Regions from separate parts of the Homo sapiens genome. Here regions 1, 3 and 4 are each linked to region 2. The links are contacts of gene promoters, found by promoter capture Hi-C in human tissues and cell types (Jung and others, 2019). All regions are on one chromosome and are shown on one strand. Each heading gives the region's core, a stretch centred on a gene start or on the middle of the fragment in contact. The rest is flanking DNA. Distances are from core to core; before and after follow the strand shown. Region 1 has its middle 15 kb from the start of NUMB. Region 2 holds the start of ACOT1 (acyl-CoA thioesterase 1). Region 3 overlaps HEATR4 (HEAT repeat containing 4). Region 4 overlaps ACOT4 (acyl-CoA thioesterase 4).

The links. Contacts are between HindIII fragments. The study calls those that stand out against the background at their distance.
Region 1: a fragment that was not itself captured here is called in contact with the fragment with the promoter of ACOT1 in region 2 in 2 of the 25 tissues and cell types used here (H1 embryonic stem cells and liver).
Region 3: a contact is called between a fragment that was not itself captured here and the fragment with the promoter of ACOT1 in region 2, in 2 of the 25 tissues and cell types used here (dorsolateral prefrontal cortex and mesenchymal stem cells).
Region 4: a contact is called between a fragment that was not itself captured here and the fragment with the promoter of ACOT1 in region 2, in 1 of the 25 tissues and cell types used here (dorsolateral prefrontal cortex).

Annotation. Positions count from the first base shown.
Region 1 is chr14:73,470,731-73,476,542 of GRCh38, reverse strand. No RefSeq gene overlaps it. Among named protein-coding and RNA genes, the nearest start is that of NUMB, 15 kb to the right of the region's middle. The HindIII fragment of the contact is 5,447 bases long and covers 1-4,031 here.
Region 2 is chr14:73,533,756-73,539,504 of GRCh38, reverse strand. It overlaps ACOT1 (acyl-CoA thioesterase 1), which reads right to left and starts at 2,362. Exons shown (of 3, transcript NM_001037161.2): 1 at 1,627-2,362. The coding sequence starts at 2,083. The region is part of intron 1 of HEATR4 (HEAT repeat containing 4); the gene reads left to right. It also overlaps the pseudogene NT5CP2. The HindIII fragment of the contact is 14,338 bases long and covers 1-5,749 here.
Region 3 is chr14:73,494,567-73,500,527 of GRCh38, reverse strand. HEATR4 (HEAT repeat containing 4) reads left to right here. Exons shown (of 18, transcript NM_001220484.1): 13 at 1,388-1,457; 14 at 2,184-2,373; 15 at 3,849-3,927; 16 at 5,141-5,300. It also overlaps a transcript of ACOT1 not described here. Among named protein-coding and RNA genes, the nearest start is that of RIOX1, 6.6 kb to the right of the region's middle. The HindIII fragment of the contact is 3,819 bases long and covers 276-4,094 here.
Region 4 is chr14:73,594,036-73,600,419 of GRCh38, reverse strand. ACOT4 (acyl-CoA thioesterase 4) reads right to left here. Exons shown (of 3, transcript NM_152331.4): 3 at 4,654-5,371. The coding sequence ends at 4,766. It also overlaps a transcript of HEATR4 not described here. Among named protein-coding and RNA genes, the nearest start is that of ACOT4, 5.4 kb to the right of the region's middle. The HindIII fragment of the contact is 2,710 bases long and covers 280-2,989 here.

The DNA.
Region 1 (5,812 bases), core at 59-2,558, 62 kb after region 2:
GAGTTTACAAGGGGTTTTAGAAGACAGACACACAAGAACCTTTCAAAGACAATATGCTTAATTTAGTGAGAATTGTGTGGTATACAGCAGATGTGCTGTAGGAGTTCAGGGAAGGGGGGCAGGAGTCGTCATGGAGACATGGGAATTTGTGTTGGATCTGAGATGGCACAAGATTTAGGCAGAGAGGAGGAGAGAGGACCTTCCAGGTAAGGGGAGGGATGGGAGAAAAGGCTGGGGGAAGGAAGGAGCTCAGCAAGGGTCCATGACAGCTCCTTTCCCCTCTCCTGTTTCCACAGTGGTTCCCAAGTTTCTTCACAACAGAAAAGCAGGCATCTGCTCTCCTTACTATCACGGTTTTGTTTCTTTGTGTTTTGTGTTTGTTGTTGTTGTTGTTGTTGTTTTTGAGACGGGGTCTCACTCTGTTGCCCATGCTGAAGTGTGGTGGTAAGATCTTGGCTCACTGCAACCTCAACCTTCTGGGCTCAAGTGACTCTCCCACCTCAGCCTCCTCAGTAGCTGGGACCACAGGCATGCACCACAACGCCTGGCTAATTTTTATATTTTTTGTAGAGATGGGGTCTCGCTATGCTGCCTAGGCCAGTCCCAAACTCCTGGGCTCAAATGATCTGCCCTCCTAAAGTGCTGGGATTACAGGCTTGAGCCACTGTGCCCAGCCATGTTTTTGTTAATCTTTTTTTTTTTTTTTTTTTTGAGATGGAGTCTCGCTCTGTTGTCCAGGCTGGAGTCGGGGTGGCATGATCTCGGCTCACTGCAACCTCCGCCTCTCAGGTTCAAGAGATTCTCCGCCCCAGCCTCCTGAGTAGCTGGGATTACAGGCGCATACCACATGCCCAGCTAATTTTTTGTAATTTTAGTAGAGACGGGGTTTCACCATGATGGCCAAGCTGGTTTCGAACTCCTGACCTCAAGTGAATCCGCCTGCCTTGGCCTCCCAAAGTGCTAGGATTATAGGTGTGAGCTACTGCGCCCAGCCTTGTTAATCTATTAACAAAATGTTATAATGACAAAATACTCCAGAAGTTCCACAAATCCTTTTATAAAGGGCCCTACCTGTCCTTCCTGGCTGAGGCATTTACAGGTGATTCTCACTTCTCACAAAGATAAATGTGTCAGGTGTTTCCTTTTCATTGCTCCTTTTGTCATCTTTCCTCTCCCTTCCTTCTGCCATACTCATTAACTCCACTGGTTGATTAGACAAGGGACTGATCCCTATCCTGCCGTAAAAGAAAGCTTCTGTTTGGACCAGCATGTGGGAGAAACATGCTGACCTTGCCTTAGTCAGGATCTAGAGAAATTTTTCATTTTTCAATCAAGGTTCATGTTTCCATTGGTTTACACGTTCCATCTAAGTTACCATCCCCCTTGTGAACCACGTCAGCCAGACCAACAGCAAAGTGGGGGTTGTGGGTCAGAAGGAAATCACCTGTGTTAGAATTTCCTCTCCCCTACCCTCACCCTGTCCCATCATTTCTTTGTTTTCTTTTTTTTTAAGGGACAGAGTTTCTCGCTCTTTCATCCAGACTGGAGTGCAGTGTTATGACCTTGGCTCACTACAACCTCCACCTCTGGTTTTCAAGTGATTCTCGCGCCTCAGCCTCCTGAGTAGCTGGGATTACCTGTGTGAGCCACCACACCCGGCTAATATTAATATTTTTTTAGTAAAGACAGGGTTTCACCATGTTAGCCAAGCTGGTCTCAAACTCCTGGCCTCAAGTGATCCACCTGCCTCAGCCTCCCAAAGTGCTGGGATTACAGGCATGAGCCACCCGCACCCAGCCTTCCCATCTTTTTTTTTTTTTTTTTTTTTTGAGCCGGAGTCTGGCTCTGTCGCCCAGGCTGGAGTGCAGTGGCGCGATGTCGGCTCACTGCAAGCTCCGCCTCCCGGGTTCACGCCATTCTCCTGCCTGAGCCTCCCGAATAGCTGGGACTACAGGCGCCTGCCACCGCGCTCAGCTAATTTTTTTGTGTTTTTAGCAGAGACGGGGTTTCACTGTGTTAGCCAGGATGGTCTCGATCTCCTGACCTCGTGATCCGCCCGCCTCGGCCTCCCAAAGTGCTGGGATTACAGGCGTGAGCCACCTCGCCCGGCCTCCCATCATTTCTTGATGGGCTATATTGTCAGCAAACATTTACCAAATACATAATTAGTAGTCATCATGGATATGCCAGCAAATATCACGTGGTTTTTCTGACTTTGGGGATTTGTTGTCTAATTGGATAAAATGGGCTTTTCTTGTTGGAGGCAGCAACAGAGCCTTTCAGAGGTCAAGAGCAAGCTGGTTACTCTTTTTTTTTTTTTTTTTTTTTTTTGAGACGGAGTCTTTGTTGCCCAGGCTGGAGTGCAGTGGCACGATCTCGGCTCACTGCAAACTCCGCCTCCCGGGTTCACGCCATTCTCCTGCCTCAGCCTCCCGAGTAGCTGGGACTACAGGGGCCCGCCACCAAGCTCGGCTAATTTTTTGTATTTTTGTAGTAGAGACGGGGTTTCAACGTGTTAGCCAGGATGGTGTCAATCTCCTGACCTCATGATCTGCCGGCCTCGGCCTCCCATGGTGCTGGGATTATAGGCGTGAGCCATCGCGCCCGGCCTCGTTACTCCTTTTTGAGACCCCAGTTATATTTTTAAAAATGAAGTGCCAAAACTCAATTTTAAAAAGTTTTGGTAGATTTTTAATGTGTATGCTTAAGGTTTTTGTTTGTTTGTTTTTGAGACAGAGTCTTGTGTCGCCCAGGCTGGAGTACAGTGGCACAGTCTTGGCTCACTGCAACCTCCACCTCCCAGGTTCAAGCCATTCTCCTGCCTTAGCCTCCTGAGTAGCTGGGATTACAGGTACCCACCACCATGCCCAGCTAATTTTTGTATTTTTAGTGTAGACGGGGTTTTGCCATGTTGGTCAGGCTGGTCTCAAACTCCTGACCTCAAGTGATCCACTCGCCTTGGCCTCCCAAAGTGCTGAGATTACAGGCATGAGCCACTGCACCTGGGCAAGTTATCATTTTTTAACACAAACAATTACAATGAGTTTCTTTTGAAATAATTTTTAAAAAATTGAAATTGACATGAATGTTCATAGCAACATAGGGAGACCCCCGTCTCTACAAAACATAAAAATACCAGCCTGAGCAACATGGCAAAACCCCATCTCTACAAAAAATACAAAGATAGCTGGGCATGGTGGCATGCACCTCTGGTCCCAGCTGAGCCCAGGAGTTCAAGGCTGTAGTGAGCTGTGATCATGCCACGGCATTCCAGCCTAGGCAACAAAGCAAGACCTTGTCTTAAAAAAAAAGAATCCAGAGAGAGGATCAGGCAGTTAGTGCCTTCATTAGACCACACTATCCCATCAACACCAAACTGTTGTTTGGAGGGCTTCAGCTCACAGCACCATGCAATTTCCTAACGCTTCTGAGTTTGAGACTCCCCTAGACAGAAGCTAAGTGGAGCACATCAGACTTCCAAAAGCCTCTGCAAAGCAACGTGGTATTGTGGGAAAATGGTAGATGCAAGTTCAAATAACCTACTGCTAATAATAAATGTGTGACTTTGTGAAAATTACTTTATCCTTCTGACTTTTACTTTCATCATTTGTAAAACGAGAAGAAGACTATCTCATGGGTCTCTTGCATGTGGTTCCCAACCAGGCTGCATGTTAAAATCGCAGTTTAAAAATGTGACAGCCTGAGTCACACCTCCTGCAAGTTAAATTGGTGTCTCCAAGGGTGAGATCCAGACACCAGTAGATTTTTAAAGCTTCACACGTCATTCTAATCTGCATCCAGGATTGAAAATCACTCGTGAAGCCAGGTGCGGTCGCTCACGCCTGTAATCCTAGAACTTTGGGAGGCTGAGGCAGGAGGATCACCTAAGGTCGGGAGTTCGAGACCAGCCTGATCAACATGGTGAAACCCCCATCTCTACTAAAAATACAAAAATTAGCCGTGCGTGGTGGCCAGCATCTGTAGTCCCAGCTACATGGGAGGCTGAGGCAGGAGAATTGCTTGAACCTGGGAGGCGGAGGTTGCAGTGAGCCAAGATCGCGCCACTGTACTCCAGCCTGGACGATAGAGTGAGACTCCGTTTCAAAAAAAAAAAAAAATCACTGGTGAGAATTAAATAATGTTACTGTACTTATGTAAATCAGGTGCCCTGTTAGTTCCTAGTCATTCCTCAATTTAAATTTCAAACCAGCAATTGACTGTGCTTTTGGTGTGTGTTCTAAAATTTTACCACTAGATGTCACTTTGACCATACAAGTTGGTTCTTGGAAGCTTCTGCTTCTCCGTTCTCAGAGTAACAACCATACAGCATCACCACAACCATTTGTTGAGCACCTGCTGAATGCCAGGCAGAGTGCCAATTTTCTTTCTTTTTTTTTTGAGACAGGGTCTCACTCTGTCGCCCAGGTTGGAGTGCAGTGGTGCAATCATGGCTCACTGTAGGCTTGACTTCCTGGGCTCAAAAATGATCCTCTTTCCTCAGCCTTCCCAGTAGCTGGGACTATAGGCACGCGCTCACCGCACCCAGCTAGTTTTTAATTTTTTTGTGGAGATGAGGTCTCCCTCTGTTTCCCAGGCTGGTCTCAAACTTGTGGGCTCAAGTGATCCTCCCATCTCAGCCTCCCAAAATGTTGGGATTACAGGCCACCATGCCCAGCTGCCAGTGATTCTTAGAACACATGACCTCCAGTCACATAACAACAAATAAGCAAGGTAGTTGTTATCCCAGTCATGAAAAAAGGGTTACAAATAATCTGTGACTTGTACAAAGATACACAGTTAGTGGCAGAACTGGGATTCCAGCTTCATTCATTCATTCACTCATTCAAAAACACTGAACAGGCTGGGTGCGGTGGCTCATGCCTGCAATTACTTCACTTTGGGAGGCCGAGGTGGGAGGATCAAGACCAGCCTAGGCAACATAGTGAGACTCCATCTCTACCAAAAAAAAAAAAAAATACAAAAATTAGCCAGGCATGATGGCACATGCCTGCAGTCCCAGCTACTCAGAGGCTGAGGTGGGAGGATCACTTGAGCTCAGGAGGCAGAGGTTACAGTGAGCCGAGATGGGGCCACTGCACTCCAGCGTGGGTGACAGAGCCAGACCCTGTCTCAAAATTAATTAATTAATTAAAATTTAAAAACACTGGGCCAGGCGCGGTGGCTCACGCCTGTAATCCTAGCACTTTGGGAGGCCGAGGCAGGTGGATTGCCTGAGATCAGAAGTTTGAGACCAGCCTGGGCAACATGGTGAAACCCCATCTCTACTAAAATACAAAAAATTAGCCGGGTGTGGTGGCAGATGCCTGTAGCCCCAGCTACTCGGGAGGCTGAGGCAAGAGAATTGCTTGAACCTGGGAGGCAGAAGTTGCAGTGAGCTGAGATCGCGCCACTGCACTCCAGCCTGTGACAGAGTGGGACTCTGTCTCCAAAAAAAAAAAAAAAAAATTTAAAACACTGAACACTTACTATGTGCAAGGTACTGTACCTGGTACTGGAAATTCAAAGATGAATATAGCATAGTTCTCATTCTCCAGATGTTCTTTTTTTTTTTTTCTTGAGACAGAGTTTCGATCTTGTTGCCCAGGCTGGAGTGCAATGGCGCAATCTTGGCTCACTGCAACCTCTGCCTCCTGGGTTCAAGCGATTCTCCTGCCTCAGCCTCCTGAGTAGCTAGGATTACAGGCATGCACCAGCACGCCCGGCTAATTTTGTATTTTTAGTAGAGACGGGGGTTTCCTCCATGTTGCTCAGGCCGGTCTTGAACTCCTGACCTCAGGATCTGCCTGCCTTG
Region 2 (5,749 bases), core at 1,113-3,612:
CACACTGCACCAGCCCCTGCCAAAGTATGACCACTGTGTGGGTGAGAAGCACCGCTGGGTAGAGCAGCACCTGGAGTCCCAGCTTGTGGAGTGAATTATCCTGACAATGGACAAGACCGTGGTCTTTGGGGACTTGCTCACTGATGACAAGGATACCATTCGAGGCCAAGAGGAGAGGCCACAATCAGTACCTGGTCCTGCCATGCACAGGGAGGTGGCTGCTCTCCTGGAATGGTAACAGGACGGAGATCATAGCCAGCCAGCAGGGAGCTAGGCAGCAGGAACGAACAGGCCCTGCAGGGGGCAGCAGCTGCAGCTGGAGCAATGGTGGGCGGGCAGGCACCAAAACCTCTGCACTGTCACAGGCCCAGCCACCTGGCACCTCCTAGCTGCCATGGAAATACAGTGAGAAAACCAGTTGGAATTCTTTTTATTAAAAAAAAAAGTGACTTCCTGGTCCATACATAAATAAGAACATTGAAACTACTTGAAAATTTTTTGTTGTTGTTGTTTGTTTTTTGTTTTTGTTTTTGTTTTAGATGGAGTTTCACTCTTGTCCCCCAGGCTGGAGTACAATGGCGTGATCTCGGCTCACTGCAACCTCTGCCTCCAGGGTTCCAGCGATTCTCCTGCCTCAGACTCCCGAGTAGGTGGGACTACAGGTGTGCACCACCTCACCTGGCTAATTTTTGTATTTTTAGTAGAGACGGGGTTTCACCATGTTGGCCAGGCTGGTCTCGAACTCTTGATCCGCCTGCCTCGGCCTCCCAAAGTGCTAGGATTACAGGTGTTAGCCACCGCGTCCGGCCTGTTTTTTTTGTTTTGTTTTGTTTGTTTTTAATATTATGTGTCTTTTCTCTTTCCTTACAATGCCTTTTTTTTTTTTTTTTTTTGAGACGGAGTCTCACTCTATTGCCCAGGCTGGAGTGCGTGGCACGATCTTGGCTCACTGCAAACTCCGCCTCCTGGGTTCATGCCATTCTTCTGCCTCAGCGTCCCGAGTAGCTGGGACGACAGGCGCCCGCTACCACGCCCGGCTAATTTTTTGTATTTTTAGTAGAGACGAGTTTTCACCGTGTTAGCCAGGATGGCCTTGATCTCCTGACGTCGTGATCCGCCCGCCTCGGCTTCTCAAAGTGCTGGGATTACAGGCGTGAGCCAGCGCGCCCAGCCCTTACAATGTCTTTTAACTGAGCACTAGGTTTGAGGGACCTCTCAGTTTTGGAGCGGCAGGGGCAATTCCCCAACCAACTTTCCATTCCATTCCTGTCTCCTTACACTAACCTCCGGAATGTTGGAAGCTACATCCTTTCTCCGTATGAAAAGCGCAGGGACGAAAAAAAATAAAAATAAAAAAATAAGTGTAACTCCCCTCAAAGGGCCGGGCGCAGTGGCTCACCCTGCAATCCTAGCTCTTGGGGAGGCAGAGGCGGGAGGATAGCTTGGGTCCAGGAGTTCAAGACCTACCTGGGCAACATAGCCCGGGGTGGTGGTGGTGGGGCGGGAGGAGGGACACACACACAAGCGAAAAGAGCGGGGCGGGGCGAAGGGGACACACACACACACACAGTGGAAAGCGCAGGAACAGGGATGGGCAGAGGGGAACAATTAGCGGAGGTGAGTCACCTGGCGGCAGGAAGAGCGTGCCTCGCACCCGGCCCGCGCGCACCGGCTCGCGCCGCACCCCGGGCGGGAGGAAGTAGCGCTCGTGCCGCACCCGGCACAGCAGCCGCCCGGGGTCGGGGTCGTGGCCATCCAGCACCTCCAGCTCCACGGCCAAGGGCGTTCGCACGTCGCGCTTCACCAGCCGCACCAAGGGTTTCTCGGGCTCCAAGGCCCAGAGCAGCCCCATGGGCTCAAGCCCCGCGAAGCTGCCGCCCAGCGCGGGCGCGCGCTCCAGGTCCAGCTCGCCAAGGGTGTCGGCGCGGTAGCGCGCGTGGGCCTGGAAAAGCGCGCCCTTCTCGTCGCGCAGGGACGCGCGCAGCGTGACCGGCTGCTCCGGGGCTAGGCCGCGCACGGCGATTCGCACCGGTTCGTCCCAGCAGCAGCGGCCCGCGGGCTCCAGGATCAGCGTCGCCGCCATCCGAGCAGGAACCCAAATAATCCGGCCAAACTGCCTCAGCTGTGGAGACCCCTGCAACTCTGCCCAACTCTTCCTCTCGGGCTGCCGTCGCAGGCTAAACGCCCACTAGGGCAGAGCTGTCTGCTAATGTGAGCGGGGAAGGCCAGAGTCCAGCCGATCAGCCAGACCAAATATAGACACACTGGAACTTGCTTAAAGTCTCCTGTGTTGAAACCTCCACTTTATGTTGGAAAGCAACTTCCTAGGTTTGCTTTTCAGAAGCTTGCTGGCTCGCGGAATGGGCTGGGCCAGGACTGGTTCGTCCCGGCTACTCGGGAGGCTGAGGCAGGAGAATGGCGTGATCCCGGGGGGTGGAGCTTGCAGTTGGCCAAGATCATGCCACTGCACTACAGCCTGGGCGACAGAGCGAAAGTCCGTCTCAGAAAAAAAAAAAAACAACAACAACCAGGCAGCTAGCAGTCTCCAGGCTCCAAACTCCTGATGGCGAAGAGGAATGCAGGACTGGAGTTGGTTTTGATCACTTTGTTGAATAATTCACACTCATTACTAATCTTAGGGCTTTTCTTTCAAAATCTGCACCATGGTGTTTTGCTTTCGTGTTCTCTGTATATGCCTATCCTCCACATCACTCCCACATCGAAGGGTGCTGGCTTCTTACTAGCTGTGTGACCTCTGAGCTTTATTCCTTACAGGTGTAAAAATAGCCAAATGAGGTAATAGTTATTAATTTCTCGAACTCCTGACTTTGTGATCCGCCCGCCTCGGCCTCCCAAAGTGCTGGGATTTACAGGCGATGAGCCACCGCGCCCGGCCAATAGTTATTATTTTCTTATACTGGTTTCTCATTTTTGTCCCAGTCAGGCAAGTGTTACCTCTCATCTTTTTTTTTTTTTTTTTTTTTTTTTAAAGAGACAGGGTCTCACTACGTTGCCAGTCTGGAGTACAGCGGCGGTTTACCATCACTGCGCACTTACAAGCCTCAAACTCCTGGGCTAAAGCCATCTTCCTGCCTCAGCCTCTCAAACACCTCAAGGGACTACCGGCGCTCCCCATGCATTGGGCTTTTTTCTACTTTTTCATAGGCTATTGGTTCCAACCAGAGGTGGTTTTTTTTTTTCATCAAACTTAAGCTTTAGGCCCCTCCCAAGCCCTTGTACCTGATTTCATAATTTCCTATCTTGGTAATTAGAGAAACCTATAAATGCGTAAGCTTCAAACTCACAAAACCTGTGTTTGCCTCTGCTCCTAATAAGGCTGTCCTCAAGGTAAGCCTTTTTATCTCTTTCCAAATGCTCTCATGTCCCATGTCCCATGTCATTATCATACAACTCCCTGTTAGTTGTAATTACCTTTGTATAGGTTCTGTGGCACACATCAAGTATATTCTGTGCATAGAAGTCTCAGGAACTAAAGAAGGTAAATAATAGTAGCTAATTGTTAATACTTACAAGAACCGTAGTAGTAAATTAAGGCCCAGAGAATTTAACTGATTTTCTGAAGATCATACAGCTGGGAAGTGGAAGTTGGGTGAGGTGGCTCACGCCTATAATCCCAGTTTACTTGGAGGCTGAGGTGGCAGGGTTTCTTAAGGCCAGGAGTTTCAGACCAACCTGGATAAGACCCTGTCTCTAACAAGAAAAAGGGGCCAGGCGCGGTGGCTCGCGCCTGTAATCCCAGCACTTTGGGAGGCCGAGGCGGGTGGATCACGAGGTCAGCAGATCGACACCATCCTGGCTAACACAGTGAAACTCCGTCTCTACTAAAAAAAAACCAAAAATACAAAAAATTCGCCGGGCGTGGTGGCAGGCGCCTGTAGTCCCAGCTACTCGGGAGGCTGGGGCAGGAGAATGGCGTGAACCCTGGAGGCAGTGCTTGCAGTGAGCCAAGATGGCGCCACTGCACTCCAGCCTGGGCAAAAAAAAAAAAAAAAAAAAAAAAAAAAAAAAAAAAAAGAAAGAAGAAAAAGAAAAGAAAAAGGGAGAGGGTTCATATGTTTGAAATCTGATTCTCAAGGCTGGGCTCTGAACAACTATGTTTAACTGTCTCTCACAGGATGTTGAAGAAGATTTGGAAAAGAAACTCATATTGGTGGATATATAAACTGGTATGACCTTTTCATGGCAATCTATGCAAAAATATTTAAAAGATCCCTTCTCTTTGACTCACAGTTCCACGTCTAGGAATTTGTTTTAAGTATAACTTCATAAATATGTGTAAATATTTGGCTACAAGGATGCTAATCATATCATTTTAATAGAGAAAAAATTAGAAACAAGTTAGCAATATAAATTTGGTTTTACCAGTTTAATTGTGATGTCATAAATGAAAGCAGTTTAGTTATAAAGCAGAAGAATATATGATGAGCATTCTTCCATGAAACTGATGAAAAAAAGCAGGTTAGAGAACAGTATAAATATACTTTTTACCAAGATATTAACATATTTTTTAAAAAGACTAGTCAAACACTCCCCCAGTAGCTGAATGCAGTGGTAGATGCCTGTAGTTCCAGCTGTTAGGGGGGAGGCCTAGGCAGGAGATTGCTTGAGCCCAGGAGGAATTCGATACCAGCTTGGGCAACAGAGCAAGACCTCATCCCTTAAAAAAAAAAAAAAAAGCAGAAAAGATAAGACATGAAAATTAAAAAAAACACACATCTAACTATTTCAAACTGTTGTTTCTTGAGCCTTGAGGTTTTATGCATAGTATTTGTTTATTTGCTTGTTTGTTTTTTAAGACGGGGTGTCTCACTGTGTTACCCAGGCTGGAGTGCAGTGGTGCGATCATAGCTCACTGCAGCCTCAACCTCCCAGGCTTAGACAGTTCTCCCACCTCAGCCTCCCGAGCACCTGGGACCACAGGCATGCACCACCACACCTGGCTAACTTTTTAGATTATTTGTACAGATGGGGTCTCCCTATGTTGCCTGGTCTCGAACTCCTGGGCTTAAGCAATCCTCCCACCTTGGCCTCCCTGAGTGTTGGGATTATAGGCAAGAGCCACTACACTCGGCCATGTTTCTTTTTTTAATTCTTTTTTTTTTTTCAAGACAGAGTCTTGCTCTGTCGCCCAGGCTGGAGTGCAGTGGTCTGATCTCGGCTCACTGCAACTTCTGGCTCCCGGGTTCCAGTGATTCACCTGCCTCAGCCTCTTGAGTAGCTGGGATTACAGTCACATGCCACCACGGCCAGCTGATTTTTGTATTTTTAGTAAAGACGAGGTTTCACCATGTTGGCCAGGCTGGTCTCAAACTCCTGACCTTGTAATCTGCCTGCTTCAGCCTCCCAAAGTGCTGGGACTAGAGGCATGAGCCACCGTGTCTGGCCTTAACTCTTATTTTTTAGAGACTAGGTCTTGCTCTGTCACCCAGGCTGGAGTGCAATGGCACCATGATGGTTCATTGCAGCCTTGAACTCCTGGGTTCAAAGGATCCTCCCACCTCCTCTTCCCAAACAAGTGACCCTACCACCTCATCTTCCCAAAGTGCTGGGATTGTAGGCATGCATGGCCTCATTTTAACCTTTTTTTTTTTTTTTTTTTTTTAGAGACAGGGTCTTGCTATGTTGCCCAGACTGGTCTCGAACTCTGGCCTCAAGTGATCATCCTGCCTTGGCCTCTCAAAGCGCTAGAATTACACGCATGAGCTGCTGGAACAAGCCCATTTTAACC
Region 3 (5,961 bases), core at 936-3,435, 39 kb after region 2:
CATCTTACCTGATTGACCTGAAGAGGGCATTACCTTCCCTGGTTGTGCACAGTATGCTCAACATTCTGTGGGGACACAGAATGAGAGATTGGAACTGGGAAGGGGGTGTATAAGCCACTTCAAACAGGACTGTTTCAGGGGCATCCAATCTTTTGGCTTCCCTGGGCCACAATGGAAGAATTGTCTTGGGCCACATATAAAGTACACTAACACTAACGATAGTTGATGAGCTAAAAAAAAAAAAAAAAGGTCCGTGCATAATTCTCATGGTTTTTTTGTTTGTTTGTTTGTTTGTTTTGAGACGGAGTCTCGCTCTGTGACCCAAGCTGGAGTGCAGTGGCGCCATCTCGGCTCACTGCAAGCTCCGCCTCCCAGGTTCACGCCATTCTCCTGCCTCAGCCTCCTGTGTAGCTGGGACTACAGGCACCTGCCACCACACCTGGCTAATTTTTTTGTGTTTTTAGTAAAGATGGGGTTTCACCGTGTTAGCCAGGATGGTCTCGATGTCCTGACTTCGTGATCCGCCCGCCTCGGCCTCCCAAAGTGCTGGGATTACAGGCGTGAGCCACCGCGCCTGGCATAAATCTCATGTTTTAAGAAAGTTTACAAATTTGTGTTGGGCCGCATTCCAAGTTGTCCTAGGCCACATGTTGGACAAGCTTGGTTTAGCTCCCAGCCAGCCCAGACTTCGATTCTAGAGCACACCCCTGAATCCTGTTCTCACCTCAGTTAACTAGCTTCTCATTACCTGGGTGCTGATGGGCTTTAGGATCAACTCCCATAAATGGAGTTATAATTCCATTATTAGGGAAAAATCTGTTTGAAGTGTTCAAGAGAAGCCATATGGCCCCAGATCTGTAGACTGAGAAAATCAATAGCAGATAATTCAGCTAATGTACTCACTATGCATATAGGTTGGTACTTTAGGCTCCAGCTCATTTGTCACCAGAATTGATAGGTCATTTTTCAATTATAGCTCCTTTTAGAGATAAGTGGTTTCCCTGTTTCTGATTCATTCTTTTGCTTTGTTTTGTTTTTTTGCTTTTTTGAGATGGAGACTCGCTCTGTCACCCAGGCTGGAGTACAGTGGCACGATCTCAGCTCACTACAACCTCCGCCTCCCAGGTCCAAGCAATTCTCCTACCTCAGCCTCCGAGTAGCTGGGATTACAGGCGTGTGACACCATGCCCGGCTAATTTTTGTATTTTTAGTAGAGACAGGGTTTCACCATGTTGGCCAGGCTGGTCTCAAACTCCTGATGTCAAGTGATCCGCCCACCTTGGCATCCCAAAATGCTGGGATTACAGGGGTGCACCACCGCACCCAGCTGTTTCTGGTTCATTCTTGCTCTGGTCCTCCCCACTCAACACTGCCTTTTCCATCCCAGGTGCTTGAATGCCTCCTGAACCTGATGCAGAGAGATCCTTACTGGAAAATCAAGGCCTTTGCCATTCGAGGTATTATAGAAGTAGTGCCCCAAACTCTTCAACCTTAAATACCTTTGCCTATGCAAGTAGAAATGATCCCCTGAAACTCTCTAATGGGGTGAAGTGCAGGAGAGGTAATGATCTTAGCTTTTCAGAAGTTCCTTGTCTGAAAAGAGAAAGATAATTTTCTTCAATTTTTAGTGAAAGATCCTGAGTCTAGGTATATGTCAAACTTAAGTTAAAGAAAGGGCTGACAAGACAGTCCCTGCCAACAGAATTAAGGATAAGTTCCAAGTAGGTATCCAGTGCTGGATGCATCTTGCTTTCCTTGGAGATCTCAACTATTACGCTCTGCAAAAGTCAGATCAGTTTCAAGACTGCTACAGACCTAAAACCCTGCCCCTTAATCTGCCTAGTTTCTTTTTAGAATCTTTGGCATTGCTTCTCTTTTTGACATAGATAAATAATTGTGCCTCCTTTCCCCATCACCCTGCTGGGACTAGGCAGGTCTTCCATGTTATTTGTTCTATATTTCATCCCAAAATAGGCAAATATCCTAACAGGCAAGGATGGGATGGAACATCCCTCTTCTAGGAATCCTTTGGAGGTAATGTCCCATTCTGACCTATCCCTAAAATTCTAATGGTGATTACCATCCAAAAGGGAAGGTATTGTTTGCAAAACTCAATTTATTTCTGGATGCTAGAATATAGTAAGCTCAGTCTTCAGTGACATGCTGCCCTCTAATCTCTGCAGCTTTGGGACAGATTGGGCAAGTAAGTCCCGAGCTGACGGATCTTCTGCTCTGGGCTATCCACTATGAAGAGTCACCAGGTGTACGGCTGGAAGCTTGCCGTAGCATCCTAGCCCTGAAACTTCAAGGGGACCGGGTCAGGGACACCTTCCTAGACGTGCTGCTCCTGGAGAACCACGATGCTGTTCTAAAGTAAGCACTAAACCTCTGGCTCCCACCATGACCTTATACTGCCAACTCTCACATCTTTGCTCATTGAATATGTCCCTGCCTTTCCAGGCTACCTAATGGCAGTAAAAGCACTGGTTCACCTGCACATTCACCACTCACCCAAGTAGGTAACTGAAAAACTGGCCTAAATTAGATTGAAAGTCAAGCTTATGTAGTTCATGCATCTTTTCTCCCCACCAGGATGGGTTTTGGCCGGGTGTGATGACTCACGCCTGTAATCCCAGCACTTTGGGAGGCTGAGGCAGGAGGATCACCTGAGGTCGGGAGTTTGAGACCAGCCTGACCAAAATGGAGAAACCCTGTCTCTACTAAAAATACAAAATTAGCCAGGCATGGTGGCACATGCCTGTAATCCCAGCTACTAGGGAGGCTGAGGCAGGAGAATCACTTGAACCTGGGAAGTGGAGGTTGCGGTGAGCCGAGATGGTGCCATTGCACTCCAGCCTGGGCAACAAGAGCAAAACTCCGTCTCAAAAAAAAAAAGGATGGGTTTTAAGTTATTCATATATTCAACTAACATTTATCAAATGCCTATTGGGACAACAAGTTTTAGAGTCAAAAAGACCAGGGTTTGAATTCCAGCTCTGGCATGCAATAGCTATGTGAGCCCGTGTAAGGTATTTAAACTCTGTGAGCCCATTTTTTTCATGTATCAAATGCAGGTGATAGTCTACATTATAGGGTTGTGGTGATAATTAATGAGATGACATGTTTAGCGCCTGTCATAAAGGTGTTCAGTAAATGGTACCTATTGGCACCTTCAAATATATTGTCTTGGCCAGATGAGGTGGCTCACATCTGTAATCCCAACACTTTGGGAGGCTGAGGCAGATGGATCACCTGAGGTCAGGAGTTCTAGACCAGCCTGGCCAACATGGTGAAACCTGTCTCTACTAAAAATACAAAAATTAGACGGGCATGGCCGGGTGCAGTGGCTCACACCTGTAGCCCCAACACTTTGGGAGGCCAAGGCGGGTGGATCACCTGAGGTCAGGAGTTCTAGACCAGCCTGGCCAACATGGTGAAACCCCATCTCTACTAAAAATACAAAAACTAGCTGGGCATGATGGCACGCGCCTGTAGTCCCAGCAACTCAGGAGGCTGAGGCAGGAGAATCGCTTGAACCTGGGAGGTGGAGGTTGCAGTGAGCCGAGACGAGATCGTGCCATTGCACTCCAGCTCTGGGAAACAGAGCAAGACTCCATCTCGCAAAAACAAAAAGTAAACAAAAAACCCACAAATATATTGTCTCAAAAACTGCACATTATTCCTGTAAGCTAAGCATTATACCATTTTTGCATATAAGGCTCAGCAAAACTGCACAGTTAGGATTGGAACTTGGGATTCTTACCTGATTCCAAGTCCTATATTTTCTACCCCCATACTTTTTTAAAGGGCAGGGTAGAATAATCTAAGAAGCCCTTCTTATCTTTCAGAGAAATGTACCAGACAATGAAGATACTCAACTTAGGAAATGAAGGAAACCAAGAAATGCTTCAGGAGATCAAGAACAGGGTAAATAAGTGCAAGCTCTGTTCTCAAGAGAAAATTCAGGACTCTCAAGAGTTCCTCAGACCCTGTCCTCCTCAAACATGTACATACCCTTTTTCCCACCATAGAAGTACTTTCTAAAACCCCAGACACAGATGCCACATCATTTGAAGATGCAAAGCATCTGTGCAAGATTGGGTTACAAGGTCCTACTAGTAAAGACAAAAACAAAACAAAAATCCTATTAGTCCTATCAAGTAACCCTCATTGTTTCAGAAATACTATTTCCCTCCCTTCCTATTTTCTCCCCATCAACCCCAAACCCAAGTTGTTTATTTTTCCTTTTTTTCAAATAGGCATAGAGAAGGAATAAGGGACTAGAGCTGGCCCCCTAGATTTTCTTCTTAATTTTTCTGAATTCCTAATCTGGGTTTTCTCACCAAAGAAAATCTCTAGCTGAAAGGATTAACATAATTTTTGCTTTTTTTTTTGAGGGGGGGACAGTCTCGCTCTGTCGCCCAGGCTGGAGTGCAGTGGTGTGATCTTGGCTCACTGCAACCTCCACCTCCTGGGTTCAAGTGATTCTCGTGCCTCAGCCACCAAAATAGCTGGGATTATAGGCATGTGCCACCACACCCAACTAATTTTTTTGTATTTTTAGTGGAGACAAGGTTTTGCTATGTTGGCCAGGCTGGTCTTGAACTCCTGGCCTCAAGTGATCCACCCGCCTCAGCCTCCCAAAGTGCTGGGATTACAGGCATGAGCCATCATGCCTGGCCTGGATTGTTCTAATTTTTCAAAGCTGTTAGATAAGATGAAGGAATAGAGGGGAAAGGACTTTAAAAAGGTAATTCAAGAAACCAACTTCACATCAAGCAAGCAATTCTTAGCAGGTTCATCATGCCCAAAAAGCTGAAGTAAAATTTTCACGAACAGGTATAAAAAATCTCCAACCAATATCATAAGAGAACAATGTTCTCAGGCACTTATGTACCACCTACTACTGATAAGCATATGCAATTAGTTACTTCTTTATTTTCTAGAGACAGGGTCTCACTTTGTTGCCCAGGCTGGAGTGCAGTGGCATGATCACAGCTCACTGTAGCCTTGAACTGTTGGGCTCAAGTGATCCTCCCTCCTCAGCCTCCTACAATCACTTTATTAATGTTTTTTGATAATTTGCTGCCTAGTACAGGTGTTTTGTTTTGTTTTTCAAACATTATTTGTTCTAATTTAGATTAAAACACTAAGCCAAAAGGACTTGCTGACACACAAAATACTCAAGCTGGAGATGGTCATGGGAAAAGTGAGGGAGGAAGCAAAACGTGTTTACTTGAAACCCAAAGGAGAACAAGGACCACTAACACTCCAGACTTTACTCCAAGAAACTTTTCAGGGTAGGTTTCCTAGGGGTGAGTTCCATGCCTTGATTCCTTTAATAAGCCTCTTCCAGGATCTGGATGTTTTGGGACTTAGTAGCAAGCCTTAGAGGATGAAAGAGTCAGGAAAGGGTACTCTCTTCCCTCTTGGCTACCATCCACTCAGTCTTTGTGTTTTTTTTTTGTTTGTTTGTTTCTCGGGTTTTTATTCATTTATTTTCTCCCTTAAAAAAAAGTTATCTCTATTTGAACTGACTTAAAAGTTAGGTCAAAAAAGGACATATCAGAAAAACACAAGTCTTTATAAAACAATACTACCATGTATGTTTGACTAAGCACTCAAAAAAGCTTTATGAGCTTAACCTTAATAGTGGTAGTGGTTGGTGGTTGGGCGTGGTGGCGCACACCTGGACTCTCAGTGCTTTGGGAGGCCATGGTGGGAGGATCACCCCAGGCCAGGAGTTCAAAACCAGTCTGGGCAACATAGCAAGACCCCTCCATCTCTACAAAAAAATAAATAAATAAAAATTATCTGGGTGTGGTGGCACACACTGGTAGTCCTATCTACTAAGGAGGCTGAGATGGGAGGATTGCTTGAGCCCAGGAGGTTGAGGCTGCAGTAACCCAATATCTCACCACTGTACCCCAGCCTGGGCAACAAAGTGGGACCCTGTCTCAA
Region 4 (6,384 bases), core at 385-2,884, 62 kb before region 2:
ATGAGCTGGAACTTAAAAGGCAGAGAATACAAAATTAAAAGAGAACTTTGAACTCCCCTTTTCCATCTAGGAGGCAGGTTAAATTTAATTGCTAACTCATTTTCTTATGGAAAATAAAGGTTTCAACTCAGGAGGTAGAACCAAAAGCTACAGAGAACAACTCACAGAGAGTAAATTGAACACTAATGAAGGAATTGGCAGCGTGTTCTCCGGTGTGTTTCAGAGTTGCTACAGGCTAGTGACAGCTGTGTGCCACATTTTCCCCATTTTTGAACAGGACTGTCTATAGGAGTTATCTTATACTTCTCCCACCATTGTATTATGGACATGCATCTGTGAGGATAGCTAACTTGTTTGTTTCAAAGCCGTTCAGATTGAGAAGAAGGATATTCAAGGAGCTATACCCAAGGGACTGTTCTGAGCCTCATCTATACCTGGATCTGATATAGATGATGAAATATTGGACCTTCAGCCTGAGTGCGATGCTATAATGAAATGAGATTTTTGGGGGAGAGGGTATAGAAGAGGAATGGGTGTTATTTTACATGTGGAGGAATGTATGGCCAGAAGGCAGACTGTATTTGCCAAAGATGGTTACAATTATTTCCCATTCCACATGCTCTTCTCCAGAACCTTGCCACTCTCCTTTCAAGAGGCAGACTATGCTCTCCTTGAACTTTGGTTAGCCTTTGACTGCCTTGTTCAATAGAGCATGGGAGAGTGATAGTATGTATAATAGCTTCCAAGACAAAGCTGAACAAAGGTCATGCAGAATTGCTTGCTAGGCTTGCTAGGCTCTCTTGGAGACTCTACTTTTATGGCAGGGAGGTTGGTGCTGGCTGTCAATTGGGAACTCAGGAAGGGATATGATTTAGGGGGTTCTCAATTTCTCTCCATCTGGGCCTTCTTGCTAATTACTTGGGCTGAGTTTCAACCCCTCAGTCAAATTACCGCAGCCCGTGTCACTTCGAACAGTGGTGATCCATTCCTACCCAGTCCTGTCCCATTTGCAGACTCTTGAGAAAAATACATGGTTAGTGTTTTAAGCTGCTGTTTTAGGGTGGTTTGCTACACAACAATAGATAACTGAAACACACCTGAAAACATAGTCACATAAAACAAAAACAATCTATTTTGCTCACAAATCTGCAGTTTGGACAGGGCTTGAGAGGGACATCACTGCTCAGTGGAGGTTATGTGAAGTCTCCACCGAGATTTAAATGGCTGGGGGCTAGGATGATCTGGAGGTGTTTTTCACTCACATGTCTGGCACTTGGGCTGAGATAACTGAGACGCTGACCACAGTTGGGACTGTCACAGGAGTGCCTGTGGTTGGCTTATACATGTATTTTAAGCTTCATCACAGCATCACAGCATCACATCCTCAAGGTAGTCAAACTTCTTTTTGTTTTTTTTTTGAGACAGTCTCGCTGTGTTGCCCAGGCTGGAGTGCAGTGGTGTGATCTTGACTCATTGCAACCTCTGCCTCTCAGGTTTGGGAGATTCTCCTGCCTCAGCCTCCTGAGTAGCTGAGATTACAGGCACCCAACACCACACCTGGCTACTTTTTTGTATTTTTAGTAGAGATGGGGTTTCACCATGTTGGTTAGGCTGGTCTCGAACTCCCGACCTCAGGTGATCCGCCTGCTTTGGCCTCTCGAAGTGCTGGGATTACAGGTGTAAGCCACAATGCCTGGCCTAATTTTTGTATTTTTAGTAGAGATGGGGTTTCACCATGTTGATCAGGCTGGTCTCAAACTCTAGACCTCAGGTGATCTGCCTGCCTCAGCCTCTCAAAGTGCTGGGATTACAGGCATGAGCCACAGCGCCTGTCCCAAACTTCTTACATAGTGGCTCAAGCTCCAAAGGCAGGTGTTCCTGGCAAACACGGTAGAATCCTCACGGCGTTCTATGACCTCGCCTGCAAAGTCACTGCCGCTCTACTCTAGTGACTGAAACAGTCACAAGTTCATCCAGATTTGAAGGAAGGGGACATAGGTCTCCCATCTCTCTCTTTTTTTTTTTTTTTTGAGACGGAGTCTTGCTCTGTCGCCCAGGCTGGAGTGCAGTGGCATGATCTCGGCTCACTGCAAGTTCTGCCTCCCGGGTTCACACCATTCTCCTGCCTCGGCCTCCCAAGTAGCTGGGACTACAGGCGCCTGCCACCACACCCGGCTATGTTTTTTTTTTTTTTTTTTTTTTGTATTTTTAGTAGAGACGGGGTTTCACCATGTTAACCAGGATGGTCTTGATCTCCTGACCTCATGATCCGCCCACCTCGGCCTCCCAAAGTGCTGGGATTACAGGCATGAGCCACTGCACCCGGCAGGTCTCCCATCTTTTGATGAGGGAAATGCCAATGAATTTACAGCTATGTTTTAAAATTACCATAAACAAGCCTGGTGCAGTGGCTCACACCTGTAATCCCAGTACTTTGGGAGGCTGAGGCAGGTGGATCACTTGAGGTCAGGAGTTAAAGACCAGCCTGGCCAATATGGCGAAACCCCATCTCTACAAAAGAAATAAAAGGCCAGGCGCGGTGGCTAATGCCTGTAATCCCAGCACTTTGGGAAGCCGAGGCAGATGGATCACAAGGTCAGGGATTTGAGACCAGCCTGGCCAATATGGTAAAACCCTGTCTCTACTAAAAATACAAAAATTAGCCAGGCATGGTGGCAGGTACCTGTAGTCCCAGCTACTCGAGAGGCTGAGGCAGAAGAATTGCTTGAACCTGGGAGGCAGAGGTTGTGGTGAGCCGAGATTGTGCTATTGCACTCCAGCCTGGGCTACAGAGCAAGACTCCTTCTCAAAAAAAAAAAAAAAAAAAAGAAAAGAAAAAAGAAAAAAAAAGAAAAAGAAATACAAAAATTAGCTGGGCGTGCTGGCACATGCCTATAGTCTGAGCTACTTGGGAGGCTGAGGCAGGAGGATCACTTGAACCCGGGAGACAGAGGTTGCAGTGAGCTGAGATCGTGCCACTGCACCCCAGCCTGGCCAACACAGCAAGACTCTGTCTCAAATAAATAAATAAATAATGGCCGGGCATGGTGGCTCACGCCTGTAATCCCAGCACTTTGGGAGGCCGAGGCGGGTGGATCACGAGGTCAGGAGATCGAGACCATCCTGGCTAACATGGCGAAACCCTGTCTCTACTAAAAATACAAAAAATTAGCCAGGCGTGGTGGCGGGCACCTGTAGTCCCAGCTACTTGGGAGGCTGAGGCAGGGAGAATGGCATGAACCTGGGAGGCGGAGCTTGCAGTGAGCTGAGATTGCGCCATTGCACTCCAGCCTGGGTGACAGAGCCAGACTCTATCTCAAAAAAATAAATAAATAAATAAATAAATAAAATAAAATTACCATAAACAGTTTTACTGTGATAAGCGTAGTTTTTCTTTGTATTTATTCTGCCTGGCATTTACAATTCTTCTTGAATATGTGGCTTGATGTCTTTGACATCAGTTTTGGAAATTTCTCAGCCATTATCTTTTCAAATACGCTTATATTAATAAATGCTATGTAAGCTGGGCGCGGTGGCTCATGCCTGTAATCCCAGCAATTTGGGAGACCGAGGCAGGTGGATCACTTGACATCAGGAGTTCAAGACCAGCCTGGCCAACATAGTGAAACCCTGTCTCTACTAAAAATACAAAAATTAGCCGGGCATGGTGGCACATGCCTGTAATCCCAGCTACTCGGGAGGCTGAGGCAGGAGAATCGCTTGAACCCAGGAGGCAGAGGTTGCAGTGAGCTGAGATCATGCCACTGCACTCCAGCCTGGGCAACAGAGTGACTCTGTCTCAAAAAATAATAATAATAATAATAATAAATGCTATGTAGTGTCAATGTCAAGGAGACAAAGGAGTGATTCCTCTAGGGTTACCACAGTACGATTTTCCAAGTTCTATTCTTTTTTTTTCTTTTGAAACGGGGTCTCGCTGTGTTACCTGGGCTGGAGTGCAGTGGTGCAATCACGGCTCACTGCACCAATCTTGACCTCCCGGGCTCAAGCAATCGTCCCATCTGAGTCTCGAGTAGCTGGGACTACAGGTGTGTACCATGTTTGGCTAATTTTTGTAGGGATTGGGTTTTGCCATGTTGCCTAAGCTGGTCATGAAATCCTGAGCTCAAGCAATATGCCCCCCTTGACTTCCCAAAGTACTGGGATTACAGGTGTGAGCCACTGTACTCGGCCCCAGGGTCTGCTCTTAGAGAGGAAGTGAGAGGGAAAATAGATCGTAGTAATTCACCCTTGGAAGAGAGTACAGACTTAACTATTCTAGAGACAGGTCTCATCTCCTCCTGTCAAAAGAGTCTTCTCTCACGTTTATAATGAAAAGGTCAGCTGCCTTTCCTCATATTAACACCCCTCTGTATGTTTCTGGCCAAAGAAAATTCTACCCTGCTACTGATGGTTGAACAGCAAACATTAAGTGACCATTCTTTCATAGTGATGGAAAAAGTCACCAGCTTTAAAGCTCACCTGTGACTCAAAACATTAACTAAAAAAATCTAGAAGGAAACACAAATGTTAACTGGTGGGAATGTTTTTCACTTATATGTGTCATATGCCTCTTAATCTTCTACAACAAGCAAGTTACATTAGTAAAACTAACGACAAAGCTTATTCAACAAAGTTACGTAAAATACACCATTAATGACAAAGACATGGCTTTAATGTTATCCAGGAGACATCTGATTCACATAGGGTTACTGAACACTAGAATCTGATCTTGAATCTCTCATGTCAACAACAGACAAATGCATTACAATTTAGGGACAGCTGTTTTCTGGGTACCTCCCAGGTGTTTGCAGAAGAAGGCTAGAATTTGCTTCCAGGCATCTTCCTGGGCCTTAGAATGAGCCCTGGGCTCCCCACCCCATATAACATGTTTGTTCAGTAATCTGTGAAGGGAAGCTGGGCACAGGGGGAAGTAAGGAGGCTCGATGTAATGCCCAGTCCCAGGGTAACAGATGATCTGGGGTTTTTCCTTTCCATGGGCCTGTAACCGTTCAGAGACTGTTTGGGCATACAACTCACTTCTCCAGTTATGGTCATCCTGACCAACAATGAGCAGGATGGGCCCCTGGGCCTTCTCTATTGGAATCATGCTGGGGTTCTTGTACCCTCCTACGAGAGCATTCCTTATATCCACAATGTCCACGAGGCCTGAGAAAGCTACCTTGATTCTCCTCAGGTCATAGCCCAATGGTGGAATGCTACTGTGCTTATAGTTGATGGCTGTGTTCCCACTGATCCCAGATCCATTGATGGAAACTGTGGCTGAGACATTCTTCAAGAATGAGGCCATTGAGAGACAAATATCAGCTCCTAGAGAAATGCCCAAAAGCCCAATGCCTGGGCCTTTTACCTGGAAGAAAAGAAGAGAGGAGAGTTGAGTCAATAACTTATCCAGATTGGGTGCGGTGGCTCATGCCTGTAATCCCAACACTCTGCGAGGCGGAGGCGGGCGGATCACTTGAGGTCAGGAGTTTGAGACCAGCCTGGCCAACATGGCAGAACCCTGTCTCTATTAAAAATACAAAAAAAAATTAGCCGAGTGTGGTGGCGCACGCCTCTAATCCCAGTTACCTGGGAGGCTGAGGCAGGAGAATTGCTTGAGCCCAGGAGGCGGAGGTTGCAGTGAGCCGAGATTGCGCCACTGCGCTCCAGCTTGGGTGACAAAGCGAGACTCCGTCTCAAAAGATAAATAAATAAATAAATAAATAAATAAATAAATAAATAACTTATCCAATGCAAAAACATTTTTCTAAAATGCAAACAGAGATGCTGCTAGCTTTAATCTGGGAATCATCCACAAGAAAATCAACCTCAGCTGACAGGGGAGTTTCTTCCCATGTGCAGAATATCTGGCTGAACACATGGCAAACACATCTTAAAATCACTGAAAAACTTGGAAACTGGTTATAAGCATTTCAGAGAATTATCCACTAGAGAATGCTGAGCCGCTGAGCCGCTGAGCCACAGATCCCATCAAGTTCAGGGCCACATTCAGGTAGGTCTGACTGAAGTCTTCATGTGGCAATGCATCCAATAGTGTGGAACCAGGTTGTTTCAAGATGTGAATCATTCATCAGATCATTTGCCATATGTATTGGCAAATGATTACAAAGCAAGACTTCAGAGTAAGTAAGTTTGTTCTTGGCTTCTGAAAGGGGTGGACAAGTTCTGACCAAAATCTGAGAACATACTCTGACACCAGGAAATTAAAATTTAAAAACAAGCATGCAAAGACAGTAGATTAGAAATTCAATTTGCAATATACAGATAATATTTAATATTACTAAATAAAATCTCATGTGGATTTTACAATTAATTCTATATCACAAATTCATCTGACAGAAAAAGTGGAAATAGCACCTT